Regions from separate parts of the Homo sapiens genome. Here region 1 is linked to region 2. The links are contacts of gene promoters, found by promoter capture Hi-C in human tissues and cell types (Jung and others, 2019). All regions are on one chromosome and are shown on one strand. Each heading gives the region's core, a stretch centred on a gene start or on the middle of the fragment in contact. The rest is flanking DNA. Distances are from core to core; before and after follow the strand shown.

Region 1 (5,167 bases), core at 1,792-4,291, 55 kb before region 2:
ATTGCATTTCTATAATTTTAATTATTACTCTAAATTTTTTAAAGATATGTCTTATTGACAGCTGGGTGCTGTGGCTCACGCCTGTAATCCAAGCACTTTGGGAGGCCGAGGTGGGCAGACCACTTGAGCTTAGGACTTCAAGACCAGCCTGGGCAATGTAACAAAACCCCATCTCTACATAAAATACAAAAATTAGCTGGGCACAGTTGCGTGTGCCTGTAGTCCCAGCTGCTCGGGAGGCTGAGATGGGCTGATGGCTGAAGCCTGGAACGCGGAGGTTCTAGTGAGCCGAGAGCGCATCACTGCACTCCAGCCTGGGTGACAGAGCACAGGCCCTGTCAAAAAAAAAAAAAAAAAGATATGTCTTACTTATTGAAAATTCCCAACAAAGTCTAAACATACCTAGTATTTCTATCCTCCCAAATACAGTGTGGTCAGCCCTACCTGCCTATTGAAGACTCTTTCTTACCCCTCCATCTTGTATATGCTATGTTGAGTTGTAGTTTTAGCTTAAACAACAAAAAGTACTGACTTTTAAAAATGGTTAATTAGTTAAATTTACCAACATATGTAATTAATTTTGGTGTTTGCCATTCTCCTTCCATTCCCATGGCTACTTTCCAAATATGTTTTTCTTCTTGCTGGCATATTCCTTTTAAATTTTCTTTTAGTGAGGATTGTGTGTGGGAAATTCTTACGTAAATAAACTTATTTTTTATTTTCTTCCTTGGGAAAAATTTTAGGTTGACTGTTTATTTTCCCCTGGCATTCTGAAAATATTTACTCCACATCTTTCCTTAATTGTTTGTTGCTGATGAAGAACTGCTGTCACTTTTTTGTAGATTATCACTCTTTTCTCTCTGGCAGCTTTTTAAGGTTTCTCTTTTTTTTCTTATTTATTTATTTATTTTTTATAGAGATGGGATCTCACTTTGTTGCCCAGGCTGGTCTCAAACTCCTGGGTTCAAGTGATTCTCCTGCCTTGGCCTCCCAGAGTGCTGGAATTACAGGCAAGATTTCTCGTTATTCTTGATGCTCTGCAGCTTGACTCTTACGTGTCTAGGTAGAAATTTATCTTTATCCTGCTAGATATTCATATTTGAATGCACTTACCAAATCTTCATAATTATCTTTAATTCTGAAAAGCTTGGTATTATTCTATACCATTCCCTCCACTCTCTCCTGACAGAACTCCAATTTATTAGACACATATATCTTGGAGCTTTTCAGTCTAGCTTCCGTACCCCCTAATTTCCCTTCATGTAAAATGTAACCTCTATGTACTCTATACTGGGTGAATTCCTGTATTATTACTATCTTCCAATCTATTAATCTTTTCTTCAATTGTGTCCAGTATAGAGTTTATTCAGTCTATTGAGATTTAAGTTTTCGGTGACTATATTTTGAATTTTTAAGATTTCTAAATGGTTCTTTTTATCTATCTGATCTTTAAAACAATGTCCATCTATTTTTGTTTCATAATTTCTTGACATTTTAAAATGGAAGTTTGCCTCAATCATCTCATTAAGAATCCTAAGTGTATCTATTTTAAAGTTTTATTAAACTGTTTTTAATAATTAATTTCATTCAATTATATTCTGATTGTTGGGTTTTGGCTTTCTTAGCACAAGATTTATTCGTGTGTTTTGGAATTTGGATTTGCAGGCTCATTTTGAGTAAAAGGATTTAATCTATATTCAATTTTATAATTGCATATTGGGGTTCCTGCCAGCCAGCTATTTTAGTGCTACAGTGAACTCAGTCACTGGGCCAGCAGGTAACATGGCTCACCTCTGCACCACAAGCTGGTTAGTACTGTCCCTTACACTGTCCTCTGTCCACAACCAGGGACGAGGCCCCAGGCCCAGGCAACAGGTCAGCAGAGGGTTTCCAGCTTCCTTTCGTGGGAAGTGCAAAGGTGGGGCAGCTTACCTCTTCTCCTGGCTGCAGGCCAAGTGCGGATCCCCTGAATCAGTGAGACACTTGCAGTCTCCTTTACCCCATGGAGTGGTCTCCAACACTGCCTGACTGCTTCAAAACCTGGAGCCTGCAAGCCTGTGGCTCCACCCTGCAACCCACTCAGCATTTCTATGCTGTTCCTGCTCTGTGGAGTTGTTCAGCTTGTTTCTGAGCCTGAGTGTGTCTTTTTGGAGGTCTCTTTATATTTTGTTTGTCACTAACTAGTAATTTTGCACAAAAAAGGTTCATTGCAGTTTGCGCACACTGCTTCATCCTGACCAGATGTCTCTAACTGTACTTTTGAGAGATCTACACTCTGAATGCAGAGTTCCTAACGTCAGGCAGTGCCCTGTTTCTAATTAATTTGCACTGGTACTTGTTTTTAAAACATTGTTCCTTAGCTATGATGTCTCTTTGAGAGGAGCGTAGCTGTACTGTGAGCACATGAGATCCCCAATAGGGTATAGGCCTGCATCAGACTTTATATACTCATGTTCAGGGGCCCTAGGTTTCTGATAAAAATTCTGAATAAGGGTCACCGTACAGTGTATGGTCTTCAGTCAACAGTAAAATGAAAACTTCATAGGATTGTCTACCAAACTCACAAATCCTGTCTTAAATCAGGCTCTGTTAGAGGTATGCAGTCAATCTTCACTCTGTGAGATGTTTCCTAATTCTGAAAAACAGAATATATGAAGGTAAGGCAATTCATGCTAACAGGTGCTCAGGCCCCACTGAGTGTCAGCTATTCTACCAGCGCTGGGTAGATAAAACTAACATTACAAGTTAGTTACACATGCGTGTGAGGTATTTCTGACCCTCAGAACCTAAGCAGGCCTTGGGTAATGCGCGATGTGAAGTGTTGAAAGGCCCAAATATGGTCTTTGAAGATGACGCCAGTGGACTCACGCAGCCACACAGGCTGTGTTGCCCTAGGTCAGTAACCCAGGAGTCTGCTCAAAGCTGTCCCGGCAAAGCAAAGTCTGATACTCAGGGCTCCTCTGCTAAAAGCTGCATGTTTGCATTTTCCTGAATTGAAACAAACAAAAACTCCTGGAGCTTTTCCCATTTGTTACATATACTCAATTTTCAATTAATTTCACAGCTCTGATAAGTCCCATAGAAAAGGTGTCAGGGTATTTGTTTAATAATAATTATTTGAAGCCAAGTTCCTGATGCATTAGCCAGTCTGGAAAAACAAACAGTTCCTTAAGGGCACAAAATTCCAAGTACCATAATTCAGAAGCAGATATAGCAGTGCAAGTAGTACAGTTTTCAGTGGAATTGCTGAACTTTTGCTTTCACTACTGCTGTGCATATTATGCATGTCAAATTAGTTTGCATGGCCACCATAATCATAAATCAAAGACAGTCCAGATGAATTTGAGTCAAAAGGAATTTTGGCTAATATGAAGTTTATTTAGAAGTTCTTCATATTTAAAGAGACAGAATCCTATTAGAGTCTGGGTGGAATTTTACATTTTAAACTAAATTCTCATTGTTAAATACCATTAAATCTGATATACAATGAAGAAACATATATATATGTATATATATATATCTCGTGCCTGTTATTTCTGAGAAGTGAGTAGGATACTGAATTAGAGCTCTTCTGTAACTTAGAGGAATCAGGCAACTAAAATATTAAGGCAAGTACATGTTAGTGCTTTTGGAAGTAACTACAACTTTTATCCCTCTTACCTTATTATTTAAACATTTTATCAATTATGCTAAGGCTATACATAGAAATATATTAAGTACTTTAAAATAATTATCCCTTATTTGAATAAAATTGAACTCAAACCTTTTAAATGGTAGACTTTTATATTACAATCATGTGGAAATTTTATGCCTATTAGAAGAAAGCAAAATTTGCCTTACAGAAAGCAAATATAATAAAATGACTTAATAGAAATTCAAATTTCTTTCTTGTCCTTTCTCTAGAACAAATGATCTTGAACTTACTTTAACATAAAATCAAATATACTGTCTAATTAAAAATATACTCTAACTAAAAATTCCCGATATCTAGAGAGGGGGGTGAAGAGGCTAGTTTACCATAATAGGATTTGGCTTCTTTTCTGGAAAAAGAAGGTTAACTGACAACAAGCATGACAAATGCTAACTTTTTCCACGATGACTAGGTTCAGAGGGCACAATAAATTAGCCATTAGTTATTATACTTGTATGAAATTTGAGGGAAACATCAAGATAAAAGAAAGCCTTCACACAGAGATGTATGGATAAGGTAAGCTATAACATAGACAATAACATGTGGTGGTATCACTACCAAGTGAAGCTTGGAGTTAATAGGCCCAGTGATCTCATTTTAGGGTTAAGTCAATTTAGTAGGACTTTTCCATTGTCAACTGCTCATTGATATGAGAATCATTCATAGATCAAAGGATGTGGACAACAATGATGTATCGTGTGCCATTCTTTCCCCTCTGAAGGTACAGAAGACTCAGGAAATAATCCGAGCCTGGGCAAGCTTTGGGGTTACCTGTTGTGGCAGGTTTCAAATAAGTCTACAAACTCTTCAACACTCTTTCCACTTAGAGGTGGAGTCTATGTGTTCTTCCTTGATTCTGGGCTCTAGGACTACTTAACTAATAGAATACAGTGGAAATGATGCTGTACCTGTTTCTTAAGGCCAAGGCCTAAGCAACTGGTATCTTCCATTTCTCTTGGGATGCTCATTCTAGAGCCTTGTCACCATGTTGTAAGGAAGCCCAAGTAGCCTGTGGAGAGACCTACCAGGACAGAACCAGACTTCCAGCCCTCAGGCCATCTGAGCTCCCAGATAATAGCCAGTATTTGAGTGGACCATCTTGAGAGTGGGTCTTTCAGCTCCCAGTTGAGCAGCCCTAGCTGGCTGTGCATGGAGCAGAGAGGAGCACTCCCCATCAGGCCATGCCCAAGTTGTAGATCCATGAGCAAAATAAATTACTGTTGTTATAATACATTAAGCTACTACCTTCGGGGTGGTTTTTATACAGAAAAAGGAAACCAAAGAACATTCTCTTTCCTGCTTCATTTCTCCTTCAGCGAATGATTATCTTACCCCATTTCTGGATGCCATCTTAATTTGGCAATCTTAAAGTCTTTGTTTTGGTACTATCTCTTAATATGTACCAGCTGTTGTGCTTATATGTCATCTAACTCTCTTAACAACCCTATGAGGTAAGTACTATTATTATCCTCATTT
Region 2 (5,398 bases), core at 1,716-4,215:
AAAAGGCAGATTCATAGGCGAAAAGGCATGCAAATTTTAAAATGTGCACAGGAGTCTTTCAAAACACAACTCAAAGAAATGGCCAGAGGGTGGACGCTTTCATATTCCATCTTGAAGTTACAGGAAGAATGGGGGCTTATGGTGTGTGGCAAAATAGGTTGGGGGGTGGTGGAGAAGAGGAGGCCTGGCTGGTAAAGTTGGGCTTGTTATGCAGATGAAACCTCACAGGTAGCAGGCCTAAGAGAGGACAGATTGTGTGTGTGTGTGTGTCTTTCAGACAGTTAAGGTGTTGAACTCTCAGTTAACCTTTCTTAGATCTGGATATGGGAGGTTCCACAGAGAAAGCCTGGCTGCATCAGTGCAGAGTTCTCTCTCCAGATGCAATCTCCCCAGTAAAAGACAGCCTTGCAGGGCTACTTCTGTTTGGAGGCCCTCTGAACAGCCATCTCAAAATATGTCAAATAATAGAGTGAAATATTTTGTTTCCTTCACGACACAGGCTTGGGCTCAGTCCTGAATTCAAATCCTGGCTCCTCCCCTTATTAGCTGTGCTGATGGAGGCAAGCACTTATCTTTCCTAAGCCTCAAGTTCCCATCTCTTTTATGGTCTTGGAGGACTGGATATGATAACACACCCGAGCTTCCTAACAGACTCCCCAGCACACGACAGGTGGTAAATATATGGTTAGTTTTCCTACCTCTTCCCTTCTACCCCTATTGTGAAATTGTCTTAGGCAGGTTTTAAGGACCTTTCAGGGAGCACTTCAATCCCTTTTCTCAACTCTCTGAGAGGCAGAGCTTCCCATTTAAGCAAGAATGGCTTGCTACAGGCCAGAAATGTATTGAATTGCCCAGAACTAATGTTGTTTTGTTTTTTCATCAGATATCACGAAGCTCTGGTATAAAGCACGGATTGCATTTTTGTGTTGTTTTCTTTTTATTTATTTCAACGCCAAACAGCCATACGCAGCGTTGTTACAGAAAACATTCAAACAACACAGAAATCTGTATAGTAAAAATTGCAAGTCCTTACCTCAGGCACTTTGCGATGGATATTTAGGGTGCTGCGGTTCAAGCAGCCTAGGAAATAACATTTTTCTTTCTAGCCTGAAACTTGAACCAATTGAGAAATAAGATCAAGACAGATGCGGCCAAATATCACTTTATAAAGTCAGTATTGCAGAATGTGGTTTATACTTGTAGGCAAGTGGGTTTCCTAACTAAACCCCAGAATTAGAGAGACAACAGTTCATACTGGACCAGTTCCAGTAGAGCCTCGACCACTAATCACAGCCTGGCCCAGGGAAATCCAGTTACAGGCTCTCTGTAGGGGGGCACACTGTCAAAGGAAGGAGAGAGGAGGGGACCGAACTCATGCCAGTTCCTTATTCCAAATGCATCAATCATGTAAGCTGGCCTCACCTGTGTATACGTGCCTGCATGCATGCTTGCGTGTGGGTGCACATGAGAGAGAGGTGGGGGATAGACAGACAGAGAGAGGGAAGGGGTAGAAACAAGTCAGGAGCATTATAGTAATGACTGCTGCCCATGAGAAAGAAAGAAATAAGGGTGATTCCCTTTCCCCATATATCATCTCGTTTCCTGCCACTGTCATAGTGCTTCCGCAAACATCCTTGCACATTTCATTAGGCCCTTGGGTGAGTATTTATGTAGAAAGAGTTTCTAGCAGGGGGTTGGTGATTATGTATACTTTAGGTTTGATGTGTACTGAGCATTGGTTTTGGACCTAGGAGCTGAATGGATTTTCCTCCCTTTTATTTCTGCTGGGATTTACCAGCCTCAATTTACTAATAGTCTCTTCCGGTAGGGAAGGCTGCTAAGGACAACACATTGTTACCTTAACAGCTGCATGGCCTTCTGCGTAAGGGCCAGTTACAGAGAGTCGGGTCAGCCATGTAAGGGTAGATTCAGGCTTTCCTGTCTGAGCCTCTGAGTTGCAGTACCCAGACATGTAATGAATCCTCCTCCACCTCCAATGCCCTCCTCTGTCAAATGGACATCGTATCACCTAGGGGTGTGAGGGAGAATTAAATGAGCTGATGTACTTAAAGTGCCTGGGAGAAAGATCAAGAAAGGAGGAGAGAGAAGAAGGAAGGGAGTGGGCACCAGTGCAGACTAAGGAAAATTGAGTTTGCAAGACCCATCTAGTGCTGGGCCCAGTGGCTCATGCCTGTAATCCCAGCACTTTGGGAGGCCGAGGTGAGAGGATCTCTTGAGCCCAAGAGTTCAAGACCAGCCTGGGCAACATGGTGAGACTCTCTTTTTTATGTAACAGTAAAAAAGGGCCATCGCCCTGTACTAAGAGGCCAAAAGAGACGCCTTGTACTAAGAGGACGTCTTGTACTAAGAGACGCCTTGTACTAAGAGGCCAAAAGCAAACCTCCAGGATACACAGCACCGATGGAGAGGGCTACTGGGACTACCTGCCTGAGGCTTAAATAGCCTCCCAGGGGGTTCATCCTCAGGACGGTCCCCAGATGCCTGAGTGTACCACAGATCCTCCTTGGTCATCATCAAAGGAGGAGTTCATGGGAGTGAAACTTCATGGAATTAGCGCTAATGACTTCAATAATGAAAAAATCGGAAATAAAGTGCAAGGTAGCTATCGGGGGGAATAGATGCAATGGGCCTCGACTGTGTGACAACTTTCAGTCCGAGAGTGGGTATTATCAGACGTGTTGTTAGGGATGAGAAAGCCGAGGCTTACAAAGGTGACCTAAGTTGCCCACCGGCCCCCAGCGAGCTTGCGCTTTCTGTCCGTGGACTCCAGAGACAGTGCTCTTTCCGGACCCGGGGTTGGGCGGGATTGCCGCGTAGAAGGCTAAGCCAGCGTGCCCTCTCCTGGCCTCCTCCAGCTTGGGCCCAGCCTGCGGGAGCCGACTCCGGGTCCCCGCGCCCTCCCTCTGCCTCCTCCCCTGCCAGCCTCCGCGCCGACCCCGCGCCAGTCCCTGCCGGGTGGAGGAGGCGCGCCGGCAAAGCCGCGTCCTGATCAATGGGGCGGGCGGCTTAGCGCGCGCGGCCACCTGGTCCGAGGAGGAGCAGTCCCGGGGCCCGCCGCAGGTCGGGTGGCTCAGCCATGGCTCCTCGGGGCGCAGCGGCCGGCCGGAGCCCGGGACCCTGCGCGGGGCGCTGAGCTCCCGAGCGGGCAGAGGGCACGGGCAGGCGGACGTCGGGGCGCCCTCGGGGAACGTGCGGGCACCATGCGTCCCCACCTGTCGCCGCCGCTGCAGCAGCTACTACTGCCGGTGCTGCTCGCCTGCGCCGCGCACTCGGTGAGTACTGCGCCCTTCTGCAGGCTGGGGACCCGAGGGAGCGACAGTCTCGCCCTTTCTCCGGCCTCGGGCAGGATGCAGGTGGAGAGGGACTAGCAGATCTTCCCATGAGGAATAGGGACTCTTCCCTCCCAATCCTCCCAACATTAATCTCTCCCAGCTCTTCTCCGGAGGGACCCTTTCCCAAAGAAAAACATCGTGCGCGCCAGACGAAGGCGGCTCTAAGATGAATCCCTGTGCCCACCACCGACCCCTTCCTCTGGTCTGGCTTCTGAAACTCTCCTACACGGAAATTCTGGAGCCGCCCGTGGCAGTGCCTACTGTGTCCTGGGCGCTTTGCCTCCAATCTTTCCTTGAAACCTGGTAATCACCTTTCGAGGCTGCTATTATCACCGTCACTTTACAGACAAAGAAAGGAAAGGAAAGGAGAGGAGAGGGGGAATAAAAATTCTTGCTGCAAGTCAGAAAAAGAGGATTGGAACCCACATCAGTATCAGTCTGCCCCCAAACCTTGACATTTTCACACTCACGGGCTGCGGATGGGAAAACCTGAGGGAGCTCTGGCAGGAGCTTCTGGGTCTGCGATGGGACCGCCTGCCGCTCTCCCCACACCGTCTCGTGTGGGATGCGGCTCCCTAATGTCTGCGTGCCTGGTGGCTCCAGGGCGCTGCTGTTCCCCAAAGCCAGGTCCTGGCAAGGGGCTGGAGGAGGAAAATAATAATAATAATAATAATAATAATAATAATAATAATAATAATAATAGCGGCAGGATGGGTGGTTTGTTTTTCTTTCCAACAGAAATTCCTGGGAGTCCCGGGCCTCTCTGAGCTCCGGGATCTCTGATAAAGAGAGTGGCCCCACCCAGACCAGCAGAAAGGAAGGAATGGGGAGGGAGTGGGGGTTAGAGGTGGGGGCCAGATTCCAGAATCATCCCTTCCCACTAGCATTCCAAATTGGTCCCCAAGTCGTCTCTTCCAAGAAGCTCCCCAGGGAACGCGCTTGGGGACCCAACTGAGTCTCTGATCTCTGTCCTGGGCAAGTCTCATGGTGTCCAGCCTCCTTGTCTTCCCTTAGTCTCCTCTGGTTTGATTATAAGGAAAACCAATGCTCCCGGAGCCGACCAGAGTGTTGACACTCAGGAGATGCTCATTTTTCTGGTAGCCCCAAGACTTTCAGCAGCAGTAGTTGGGATGAGTGCAATTTGGAGCTTGCTTGGAGCTCCCTTGCCACCGTGGAGCCTCCTCTCTTCAGTGGCAGTGCTGGCCTTGGAAGACGCTAGAGCAACAGCATGCACTCATGAGTTTTGACTCCCAATTTGGAGAAATGCCAACTGGGATACTGGGGACAGTGCAAAGCCAGGTAGAGCCAGAAGGTGTGTTATTCCGTGGCTGGGGGTGGGAGAGGCAATAGCTCCTTCCTTGGGACCCTCCCAGCCTCCTTCTTAAGTATTTGCAGTGACTCTGAGACTGTCGTAACTGGTACCTCGAGTGCAGGACTGAGGTTCAGCCTACATTTTTATCTCAAGGAAATCCCTGGATTATCACAGGAATAAATGGAAGGGGAAAATGAGAGGCTTCACTTGGTTTAAGTCTTCAGTGTACCTTGGAAGGATGCTTCATTATGCTATGGTCCCAATCCCTCATTTTAAAAATGAGCACACTGAGACTCTCAGAGAGAAGGGAGCTGCCCGAGATCAGCAAGTTAGTAGTAGAGCCGGGACTAGCAGCTCTACTCGCCCCACATACCCCACTTAACCCACTAAGGTTAGCACCCAGATCTCTTGATTCCCAACCATCCAGGGCTCTGTCTTTTATACCCCTTGTATTTCCTTTTTCTTTTTCTTTTTTTTTTTTCTTTTGAGACAGAGTTTCACTCTTGTTGCCCAGGCTGGAGCGCAGTGGCGCGATCTTGGCTTACTGTAACCTCCGCCTCCCAGGTTCAAGGGATTCTCCTGCCTCAGCCTCCCAAGTAGCTGGGATTACAGGCATGTGCCACCATGCTCGGCCAATTTTTTGTATTTTTAGTAGAGATGGGATTTCTCCATGTTGGTCAGGCTGGTCTGAAACTCCTGACCTCAGGTGACCTGCCTGCCTCGGCCTCCCAAA

What was found. The method cuts DNA at HindIII sites, captures the fragments that hold promoters and counts their contacts. A contact is called where the count stands out against the background at its distance.
Region 1: a contact is called between a fragment that was not itself captured here and the fragment with the promoter of SCTR in region 2, in 1 of the 25 tissues and cell types used here (mesenchymal stem cells).

What each region holds. Positions count from the first base shown.
Region 1 is chr2:119,577,648-119,582,814 of GRCh38, reverse strand. All of the region lies in intron 6 of CFAP221 (cilia and flagella associated protein 221), which reads right to left. Among named protein-coding and RNA genes, the nearest start is that of CFAP221, 36 kb to the right of the region's middle. The HindIII fragment of the contact is 5,211 bases long and covers 436-5,167 here.
Region 2 is chr2:119,522,050-119,527,447 of GRCh38, reverse strand. It overlaps SCTR (secretin receptor), which reads left to right and starts at 2,965. Exons shown (of 13, transcript NM_002980.3): 1 at 2,965-3,293. The coding sequence starts at 3,222. The HindIII fragment of the contact is 25,327 bases long and covers 1-5,398 here.